Regions from separate parts of the Homo sapiens genome. Here regions 1, 2 and 4 are each linked to region 3. Evidence: promoter capture Hi-C in human tissues and cell types (Jung and others, 2019). All regions are on one chromosome and are shown on one strand. The core of a region is centred on a gene start or on the middle of the fragment in contact, and the rest is flanking DNA. Distances in the headings are between cores, read along the strand shown.

Region 1 (2,700 bases), core at 75-2,574, 300 kb after region 3:
GGACAGATGTTTATCGACCACAGTGGCTGCAGCCTTTCAGTCCTAAATGTCAGCAGCAGTGGGAAGCAATGCTGAGGAGAGGCAGAAAAAAGAGAAAGGGAAATGAGCGTTGAGGAAGAGGAAAATAGAAAGAGGCGTACATATAATTGTAGTGGGGACAGGGGGCACCCTTATTTTCTAGTGCTGTGATGTGCTCCTGGTATTTCTTCTTGTAAGACAGCTGGAAGGAGCGTTGCATGGAAAGGCCCCTGCTGCCCCAGCAAACCCACGGTGCACTTGCTGCGCTTTCCTCTTGGTGGGTGCGGTTGAGTTGTCAGGAGCTCAATAGGTTGTAACCCATGTGAGCTTGCCCACAGGAAGGTGGGAGGCTCACCTCTCCTGCCAACTCCCCAACCAAGTCAGAATTAATCACTTCTCAATGCCCCATGTATTCTGTATTTTGCAAATATGAAGAAACCTGTATACATGGAATAGATTATGGAATTTGAGGTAGCATGGTGCGGGGTGGAATTTAGGGATAATTTTATTCCAAACGCTTCATGTCATGGATAAGGAAGTTTGAAAATTGGAGAAATAGGCTGGGTGTGGTGGCTCACGCCTGTAATCCCAGCACTTTGGGAAGCTGAGGCGGGCAGATCATGAGGTCAGGAGATCGAGACCGTCCTGGCTAACACGGTGAAACCCTGTCTCTACTAAAAATACAAAAAAATTAGCTGGGTGTGGTGGCGGGCGCCTGTAGTCCCAGCTACTCGGGAGGCTGAGGCAGGAGAATGGTGTGAACCCGGGAGATGGAGCTTGCAGTGCGCCGAGATCGCGCCACTGCACTCCAGCCTGGGTGACAGAGCTAGACTCCGTCACAAAAAAAAAAAAAAAAAAAAAATTGGAGAAATAAAGTGACTGTATAAGATGATATAAAATGTTTGCTGCAAATCTGGGTCCATTCTTCCGTGCACAGTCTTGACAAGCTGGTTCTTGCCTCTGCTCTGTTCTTGGAGGCTTAAGGTTGCTCAGAGAGTGTCTCTTGTGGGGGACCCAAAACTTATGACACCTGTAAGTGGTCAGAATGGAAGCTGAGTGGGAGAGCAATGCAGAGAAACTTGGTGGTTTCTCTCCCACAGCCTTCCAGGGGAGTAAATATTTCTCACTTAAATAATGATAAAGATTATTATCACTAATAATAATCATCATAGCTAATCATGGAGAATTTACTGTCAGGGCTTGTTTTAAATGTTTTAATATATTTATATATTAAATATTAAAATATGTTATATATTTAATATTCTTAACATTCTAATGAGGTAGGAACAATTATCCTCACTTTTGGAGATGAGAAAATTGAGGCACAGAGAAGTAGAGAAGTTAGGTGGCCAAAGTCACTCTACTGATAAGTGACAATATTAGGATTTGAACTCGGAGAATTGGATCCAGTGTCTGTATTCCTAACCACTATTCTATTTAAAGAAGAGAAGTAGGAAATAAAGAGACATAGAGAGAAATAGAGAAGGGGAGAAAAGGAGAGGGGAGTGAGAAGGGAGTGGAAAAGACACTGAAGCTTATTAGAAATCTGTGCACTAGAAAATATTTCTCCTCACAGAAATGAGGTGATCTACAGAAAACTTTTAACTTTGTGGTAAACAAATTTTTGTAGAATAATATTTCCAAGACTTTCTACTTACAATAGCTCCTTTATGCCAAAAATTCTTGAAGTGTTAAGATGTCATCAAGATTCGGGAACATGGGTACTTAAGCCTGGACCCTATGGCTGCTGAAGTCTTGCCAAGATCGTGGAGTTGGTGGATCTCCAATCTCTTCCTGTTCTGCGTTTTGGAGTCCAGACAAATGGAAGGGTAGGAGTGGGTATAAAGGACGGTAAGAGAGAGGAGGCTTTATATTTATTGAATCTCTTTGCAAATTTCTGTCTTATAGCTCAAGGAGTTTATTGTAAAATTTCCTGAAGAATAAACAATTCTGTTTATAGGATCACATTTGGTAAACTTTCATTTATTTTTAACTTTGTTACATTTCTATTATAAATTTGGTCTGGTCTCTGAAAGTAATAGACCTATATGACATTAAACATAAGATCTGAAAAAATGAAAGAAGAATACACATTCAATTAACTACTTGTTTGGCTAATGTGTCACATCAGTGGCTTACCTGCTTCTTAAAATCAGCTGATTTTCAAGCTAACTAGTTAACTAACTAGTTCATAATAAAGCTATGATCTTATATTCTCTTCACCTTGCCTTATTCTTGTAGCTTTAAAATGCAAAGGTTAATGCTGTAAGTGTACTGTCCAGCGTTTTAAATCTGGGCAGTCTAAAGGGGAAACAGATGAGTTTTCTCAAATAGTTAGCATTTGGCTAAGCTTGCTTTCCCAAAAGCTTAAAATAGGAAAAGTCTCCTTTTGCCCTGTTTATTCCTTGGTGTGGTGTTTATTCACCTAGCTGTCAAGCTTTCTTCCTATCTTCATCTCTCATTAAAACCTGTTCAGGTGCTTCATTTGGACTCCAGTGAATATGAACTCAGACAGATGTTTGAATATTGGCAAGAATCATAACAATATAAAGGGATAAAAATATGTAGAAGCAAAATATGTGACAAAAACAGCACAAAGACTGAAAGAGGGGAAAATGTGACTATGTTAGTGTAAGGTCCTTACACATTATGTGAACTAATGTTACTTGAAGGTAAACTGTG
Region 2 (2,700 bases), core at 42-2,541, 270 kb after region 3:
AACAGGACTTTTATAATAAATTAATTTTTTAACGATAAGTGAGATTATGGGGTGGGCACAGAAATATAATGCAAAATTTAAAATGTCAGCAATTAAAGACCAGAACTAGGATGAAATCTGTTTAATTGACAACTCTGATGTGTTGGAGACTGATAGGCACTATTTTTTCACTCTTTGTATTTATAATTCTGTAATAGAAATGAATGTTCTTGTCAAACAGAAGCCTCTCTTGCTGGAGGAGTGAGCTCGAGTGGCTCCTGGGCATGAACAGAGAGCCCAACCCAGAGGGCTTAGCTACTTTGAGCTGCTTTGGTCTGGCTGTTGGTTTTCCAGGTCCGAGCATCACATGTGAAAGGCAGTACGGCTGTCATCACTCATAGTCATTTTACCCTAAATCTGCTATAATTCACAGTGATCACTTAATTTGAGCAGTTACATAATTTTTAGTTATCTTTTTTACAGTTCTGTATTTTAAAAAATTCCAAAGGGGGAATTTTTATTTTAGTAGTCAGAAAATAAGTTATTATAATAATAAAAAATAACCTTTATGGATTTAGAAATGCTTTACTGTTTGCAAGATACTTTGATAACTGCCATCCTCAGTGACTGTCACAACCACCTCTCTGATCTCTGTAATGTGTCTACTTGCAGGTGGACTTTGGTTCTTGTCTTATTGTCTTCTGCCCACCAGAAGTCCTGCTCCACGGTTCTCCAGCCCCCTCAAACCCGGGGGCCTTCACCTCAACTCCAGTTCTGTCACCCTCTTCTGGGGATACACACGGCCACTGAGTCTCAGTCAGTTATGGCTCAGAAACACTTTTGAGGTTATGAATCCTCTCTCAGGGAGAAAATGATCTTTCAGACCTCACTTGATATTTCCCCAAAAGTTGCAAGGGGTTTGCAAACCCCTGGGAGCCCATCCATTTGCCCCTGCCTGGCCTGAAACTTCTCTACCCCTGGAATCTTGGTCCTAACCTGTCATTCTGATCCACAACTTATCCTTCCAATGCTCTCCCTCCTTTGCAACCACAACACCTTTTCTTTGATCTCATCTACACTTCCAGGCCCTAATTTCCCATCAGTCTATCAGAACCCACCGGTAGTAATGTCTTTTCCTAAGTAGCTCAAACACCACACTCCAACATTCCAACTTGTTTTGTCTCCCCTTTCTTTCTTTTTTTTTCTTCTTTTGAGACTGAGTCTCACTCTGTCGCCCAGGCTGGAGTGTAGTGGCGTGATTTCGGCTCACTGCAACCTCCGCCTCTTGGGTTCAAGCAATTCTCCTGCCTCAGCCTCCTGAGTAGCTGGGACTACAGGCGCGTGCCACCACGCCTGGCTAATTTTTGTATTTTTAGTAGAGATGGGGTTTCACCATCCTGGCCAGGACAGTTTCGATTTCTTGACCTCGTGATCCGCCTGCCTCGGCCTCCCAAAGTGCGGGATTACGGGTGTGAGCCACTGTGCCCGGCCATCTCCCCTTTCTTTATATTTAGCCATCAAGAAAACTCTAATCCTGGATCTAAACCACTATTCCCCTTCTCCTTTCTTACCCTTGCACCTCCTACTCCTGCTGGGGAAAGTCAGACAACTGATAACAGTTTGCCATTACACATGTATCATCTCCAACTTCATCTACACCTTAAAACTACCCAGCCGCCCCTGCTATGAACCCAGCACCTGTTTCCGAATGCCTTTGCCCTCCTCAAACTCCCCCACACCCTCCTGGTGCTCAGTCATGACCTTGCCCTCTACAGATTCAAAACGCTCTTCAAGACCTTTCCATCACAGCTCCTGGAGCCTCTACTTCTTTCCATTTGCAAGCCTTCAGGATACTGTAGGAGCCCCTTAGAGCAGCGATTTTCAGTGTGTTTCCTGGACCAGTGGCATCAGCAGCACCCGAAAACTTGTTATAAATATTGTTCTCATGCCCTGTCTAGATCTACTGAATCAGATTCTGGGAGTAAAGTAGGCCCCAGCCCCCTGAGTTTTAACAAGTCCTCCAGGTAATTCTGATGCACATTAAATTAGTGGGAGAACAATTGCCTTAAAATAAAATGCAGCCTCTGCCTGTTTCTTTAATCTTCTGCCTTGTCCCATGGCCAACTCCTCCATTCTATGGTACTCTAACGATGCAGAACTGTGGTACTAATCATTCTCCAATCTGATTAAGTTTCTTCCTGGCTCAGGGATTTGTAAAAGCTGCTACCTCAGCTTGGGAATCACTACTGCTGTCTATTATTCCCTTCACCCCTTGTTTCCCAACATGACAAGCTTCCAGGACTTCCTTCCTCCTAGAGTTAAACTCTGGATGTGAAGACAGACTGGGATGTGTGCTCTGACATTATCAGCAGAGGCCTCTGGGATTCCAGGACTATTGAAATTGGAGAGTTCCCTGACCCCCTCGAGGGACTTGTGACAGGGGTGTGGGCTTGTTTGCTCTTGCACTCAAACCCCTTATGGAGGGGGAGCACACACATGGGCAGGTGCAGGAGCTGGGACGAGTGCTTTTGGCCTCTGGCCCCATTGTAGCGTCTAGGGGTGTGTTACAATTAATGCTCTTTTAGCAGTTGCTGTCTGTGAATGGCTAAGTGTTAAAACAGCTCAGTGGAGAGTCAGGTGACTACCTTTTACACCCTGCCCTCCTGGTACCTGGCTCCTTGTCTGGTGTCCAGGTAGAATCAGGTCACATGGACTTCCAGG
Region 3 (2,829 bases), core at 129-2,628:
CACCGGTACTCCCCAGGGCTGGGAGAGACAGGGAGGCCGAGGCTGCTAAACTGTTCCAGATGACAAGCAGGCTCTCCCACGTCTCCACGAACTGATCAGATACCAGGGCCTCGCTTCTTTGTGAGCCTCAGCTCCCTCCTTTCTGGGGAACCCTACTCGATCCCCAACAGCCGCTGGCCTCCAGCTGCCACAAACGAGATCCAGACTCATTACAGGGAATTCGTATTTCCCCCCCTCAAATAAAACACACACACACACACACACACACAGAGTCTCCGGGGTCCAGCCGGATCACACAGCTAAAGTTTCCGGAACTTGAATCGTAAAACCACAATCAGAAGTTGTTTGGAAATACTCGCCGCAAAGCAATCTGTCCTTTGCTTTAAAAAATAAAAAATAAAAAAAACTTTGCCCTGCATAAAGGCAGACAGTAAAGAGAGACACAAATCTAACTTGGGCAGAGGGTGTGTTCCTCTTTGTCACCCGCCGGGAACCCTCGCGCCGCGCGTGGGCGAGCGGCGGGCACCCGGCGGCATCCGCGCCAGCGGCCACCTCCCCGGCCCGCAACCGGCCTCAGGGGCCGAGATTGCGGCCCGAGGTCCGGAAGCGGCGTCCAGCGCTGTCAGCGGGCGGGTAGGACGGAAGGAAACGGGGGAAGGGCGCCGGGGTCGGGGGAGGCGAGCGGGGACCGGCGCGGAGCCCCGCAGCCCGACGTCGGCGGAGGTGAGGGGAGAGGGGCGCAGGGGGCAGCCCGGAGCCCCGAGGCCCCCGAGCTCCTGCGATGGTGGCCGGGGCTGCCCGGGCCCGACCCGCCGCCCGACTGCGCAGGGCAGGACCTCGGGGACCACGCGCCCACCTTCGCCCGCAGCCGCGGCCGTGCGCTGCGGGAGCCTGGACTCGCACAAGTTGCCGCCCGCGGCCCGGACCCCGCCGGCCCCCGCCCTCCCGCCGCGGTCATTGTTCACCGCGCGCCTCCTACCTCCACAGCGCCGGCGGCTGCGGCGGCTCCCTCTCCCGGCTCGGGCTCCGGGATCGGCGGCTCCCAAGCCCCCGGCGGCCGAGGGCGCGGCGGCGCCGGCTATTAATACCCGCGGGCGGCGGCGGCGCGGGCGCGCGAGCAGGGCTGGCGGTGGCCGGCTGAGGTCCGAGCCATCAAAGGTGGCGCGGGGCGGAGGGGAGGGCGGAGCAGGCGGGGTGGGTGGGGAGCGGGCTCCGGGTCGCCATGGCCGCCTCGACGCCGGGGCCAGCGCTACTCGCGCAGGGAGGAGCGGCGCAAAGCGGGCAGCGGCCGCGTCCCCGCCCCGCGCCCCAGCCGAGCGCCCGCACCGCTGCGCCCGCGCCGGACCCGCCGCCTCTGAGGCCGGCGAGCGGGAAGTGCAGTGGCCACCGCCCCTCCCCGGGTCTGGGCCGGCCCCTCGGCGGGGGGAGGCGGGCGCCGCGCAGCCCGAGCAGCGGGGACGCGGGAGAGCCACAGCCCCCTCCAGCGTCCGGGCCCGCGCCCTGCGCCCGCCCCGCCCCGCTCCGCTCCGCCCGGGCAGGTGCGCCCAGGGGCCTCCCGAGCCCAGCGCGCCGCCGGGGATCTGCGCCTCTCTTGGGCTTCCGGCCAGGGCCGGGCTCCGCGCGGCGCTACCTAATGCAGCGCGGGGAGCGCCACTGGCGAGACGCGAATCCAGCAGCTGTGGCGAAAAACGAACCGGGGAGAGCGGGAGACGTGTGCACGGCGAAGCCGGGAGCGGCAGGCGGGCGGTCAGGGGCTCGGACTCTGCAGGTCGCTTTTTGAGGTCCTGCCTGGGGCTGCTTCGCCTGCGACGTCGCGCGGGGAGGACAGTCTTCAGGGACCCACCGAGCCCTCCCCTCCCCCGGAGCCACAGGCACGGGCTTCCGGCACCACCCCGGGCTGCGCGGGACTTAAGCTTGGGGGAGCGGCGGCCACCCCGCGCCCGCCCACGTCCTGGCCCAGCGCCCTCCGCCCGAGCGAATCCCATGACAGTTCCCGCCCGCCCAGCCTCGGGGGACAGTGCCCTTGGGGAATGGCGTGGGGGAGGTTAGGAGTGGCTTGCGGTGCTTGAGAGCCTTCGGGGTTTCGGGAACTCTACGGAGCGGGGAGCAAGATTCAGGACCCAGGAGGCAGCGATCTAGGGGCACAGTCACCGTCCCCACCCAGCAGCTGCCGCGTTACCTTCTCTTCCCCCTTCTGAGCCTCCAGTCCCTCTCTCTAAGCGTGGCGGGAAGAGGCCTAGGGCGCAGCAAGTGACGTTCTGCCAGACCCGGGGCTAGCGGATTCCGGCCTTCGGAGGCCACTGGCTCAGAACCGTGGGCCTTTTGCGTCTTACAGGAGTTCCCTGACCTCAGACCGAGAGGGCAGATTTCACGGGAGAGGCCTCAAGTGAACTCACAGCTGGACAGGAGCTGGGCAGAAGTGGAGTGTAGGGACCCTGATAGAAGGGCGGGTTGAGACAAGAACAGGGGTCTTGGAAGTAGGGGGTGCTTGTGGGCAGCTCCTGGGGAGGAGCAGAGATGTAATACTTGCAGATTTGGTGGTCTGTGGTTGAAGAGAAGAAATGGTGGGTTTGAGGCTTTGCTCTGTCAGCCCAACCAGCTGTGTGTCACAGATCAGATTTTTTTCTGCTCGTGATTCTCTAAGTGTGGTTCTCAGACCACGACCACCACCAGCAGCCCCTGGAAACGTCAAGAAATGAACATTCTTGGGCCGCATCCCCGACCTACCTAATGAAACCTTAGCAAGCATCTGAATCGCCTGCAGGGATAAAGGACTGTCAGGCTCCATCCCCAGAGCTGCCGATTCAGTAGGTTTGGGGTGGGGCCTGA
Region 4 (2,700 bases), core at 85-2,584, 320 kb before region 3:
TCATGATGACTGATTGATTTTAAAATATACTCGGGGAACACATGGACAAAGCTCGTATGGCAAAATGTTAATTAGTAAATTCATGCAATAGGTAGATGAGGATGCATTATATTAATATTTCTCAGTTCTTTGTATGTTTGAACATTTTCATAATAAACTTTTTTAAGTTCTGGGCCCCTGGTAAGGCACCTTACATGGCCACCTCCTCCTCTTCCACCTCCATTCTACAGATGAGAGAAACAGGGCTCAGAGGTTAGCTCTTTCATCTAACGTCACAGGACTTTGACTGTAGAACTGGCATTTCAACCCAGGTATCTTGAGACCAAGGTGCCCACTCTCGACCTCAGAGCTGTGCCCTAAGTTCTAAGCACTGCTGGAGGGGGTGACTCGCGAGCGTACACCCACTCCGGACTCCTCCTCTCTGCTCACCTCTCTTACTGGTCCTGCTGGCCCCCGGGACTCCACGGGGAATGCCGAATGCATCCAGCAGGAGGCGTAGTAGGAGTGAATTGATAAGCCATCTCCATGTAGAGGCAGAAAACATTTGGCATATTACAGTTTCTCCTGTTGTCTCTTTTGAAATTACAGCGAGGGCTTATGTTTTTAAATATCAGTTAAAAATACCTTTTTCAAAACCTCAGAAGTATTGAGACATGTTACCATTTTCCCCCTAAATACTGTGTATTGGAATAGATTCCTGCTTGGTGTTTGTAAAGATGCTTTTCTTGTTGCAGGCAGACATCTGGTCCCTGGGCATAACAGCTATTGAACTTGCAAGAGGGGAACCACCTCATTCCGAGCTGCACCCCATGAAAGTTTTATTCCTCATTCCAAAGAACAACCCACCGACGTTGGAAGGAAACTACAGTAAACCCCTCAAGGAGTTTGTGGAGGCCTGTTTGAATAAGGAGCCGAGCTTTGTAAGTTTCCCAGGGATCACAGCGTACCTCTTCATGTGCGGCTTGACTTGGTTGAGATACATCCTGTTGGGATTGCTTTAATCACTCTTTTCAGCTGTCTTCCTGGTATTATTCATTTTTCTTTTTCTAAGTAAGTATGATTGACTTCTTTGGTTTGCAAATACATTTTAATTTTTAAGTATTAAAAATCTCCTTATTTTCTTTTAGATTTCTGCCATCTCATACTTCATTGAATCTGAAGAATATTCTCCTTAATATTAAATGTGGAATCATAAATGTTTAATATTTATAGAAGATCAGGCCATAAACTGTTACACTGTTTTTAATAATGGCAAAGGTTAGCTGGAAACAAATGGCTAAATATGTCTTTAAAGTAAATGTTTTCACTTTCCAGGTGGCATGTGTTAGGAAACAAAAGATTAGAAAATATAACCAAGCCACCCTCTGTGCTTCTTCCCCTCCCCTTCCTGCCTACTTTCTCTTTTTAGGTTTAATAGACTCTGGCAGAGCCATACAGCAGTAACGACTGTGTGGCTTTGCCTCATTTTCTGTCTGAATTAGGACATTTCTTTGAAAGTAGTGTGTGTGTGTTGGTGTTGGAGGTAGCACCATATGTCCTTGTTTTGTTTCTGAGTTTTCCAGCAGAGTTAGCTGAAGGCTAAGCTGAGCCCCCCTTTTCTTAACTCTTATGTAAAAATGGGTGGTTACTTTTACAAGAGCACCATGGTTTCCTAATATGCCAGTTCTGGTAAAGGAATTAAATGGGTAATGCAACATTTTCTAAGTACGTCTAAGGAGATGCAGGCTGAGACCACCACACCAGTGTTTGATGACTACATCAGCATCGGGTGGTGGTGGGGCTTGTCCTGCATGCCACGATGCTCTGCATTTTATTACACGATGATGTTTCTTGCAGCCATCATGCACCAGCACCAGTGGAGATGTGTGCAGGCATGTCTTCCCATACAAAGCATGTGTCCTGTATGGGCTTATGCCCCAGCACACAGAGCTCCACCCCACAGCTACCGAGGAGCTGGCTGAGAGGCGAGAATATGAGCACCTCCGGGGTAGTTGGGGTTTCACCCTTGGATGGACAGGGAGGGAGAATACTTGAGGTGATCCACGTTTCTCATGAGTTTGAATCTGAAAACATGCTTGGCTCTTGTAATCAAGCTTTTGTAATTTGGAGTGAGTGGGAACTTGGTTCGACTCGGTGTTTGGGTGTTCCTGCTGTCTGTTCCCATTTGGGCCATGCTGGTTTCCTTGGGAAGCACATTCCCTGTCACTATCGCCATCCTCAAGGCAGGCAGCTGACCAGGTGCTGCTTGCGGTGGCCATGCTGAGCCCAGGGCATGGGTGAAGTCCTCAGCCCAATCACAAGGGAAGGGAGGGAGGGACCTGGGAAATAGCCCTTCTAAACCGGGAAAGTTGGTGGTGAAGCGCATCCAGTTGCTCTTTCAGCAGACAGGAAAAAGGGGATCTCCTGGCTCCTTTCCAGTTTCTCTGAGATAATTCCAAATTGACATTTCTATTATATGGTTGGATGTGGCCAAACGTTAATACAGAAAGTTAACAAAGCAGCCCAGCATGGTGGCTCACATCTGTAATCCCAGCACTTTGGGAGGCCGAGGCAGGTGCATCACCTGAGGTCAGGAGTTCAAGACCAGCCTGGCTAACATGGTGAAATCCCGTTTCTACTAAAAATACAAAAAATTAGCCTGGTGTGGTGGTGCAGGCCTGTAATCCCAGCTACCCAGGAGGCTGAGGCAGGAGAATCGTT

What was found. The method cuts DNA at HindIII sites, captures the fragments that hold promoters and counts their contacts. A contact is called where the count stands out against the background at its distance.
Region 1: a fragment that was not itself captured here is called in contact with the fragment with the promoter of FARP1 in region 3 in 1 of the 25 tissues and cell types used here (hippocampus).
Region 2: a fragment that was not itself captured here is called in contact with the fragment with the promoter of FARP1 in region 3 in 1 of the 25 tissues and cell types used here (dorsolateral prefrontal cortex).
Region 4: a fragment that was not itself captured here is called in contact with the fragment with the promoter of FARP1 in region 3 in 3 of the 25 tissues and cell types used here (dorsolateral prefrontal cortex, lymphoblastoid cells and mesenchymal stem cells).

Annotation. Positions count from the first base shown.
Region 1 is chr13:97,839,848-97,842,547 of GRCh38, reverse strand. No RefSeq gene overlaps it. Among named protein-coding and RNA genes, the nearest start is that of IPO5, 110 kb to the left of the region's middle. The HindIII fragment of the contact is 3,919 bases long and covers 1-2,700 here.
Region 2 is chr13:97,867,742-97,870,441 of GRCh38, reverse strand. No RefSeq gene overlaps it. Among named protein-coding and RNA genes, the nearest start is that of IPO5, 85 kb to the left of the region's middle. The HindIII fragment of the contact is 6,591 bases long and covers 1-2,700 here.
Region 3 is chr13:98,141,643-98,144,471 of GRCh38, reverse strand. It overlaps FARP1 (FERM, ARH/RhoGEF and pleckstrin domain protein 1), which reads right to left and starts at 1,378. Exons shown (of 27, transcript NM_005766.4): 1 at 980-1,378. It overlaps LOC105370328 (a long non-coding RNA gene), which reads left to right and starts at 562. Exons shown (of 3, transcript XR_931670.4): 1 at 562-633. RefSeq lists silencers at 1,328-1,637, 1,878-1,927. The HindIII fragment of the contact is 5,274 bases long and covers 1-2,829 here.
Region 4 is chr13:98,464,596-98,467,295 of GRCh38, reverse strand. STK24 (serine/threonine kinase 24) reads left to right here. Exons shown (of 11, transcript NM_001032296.4): 6 at 735-920. Among named protein-coding and RNA genes, the nearest start is that of FARP1-AS1, 30 kb to the right of the region's middle. The HindIII fragment of the contact is 4,204 bases long and covers 1-2,700 here.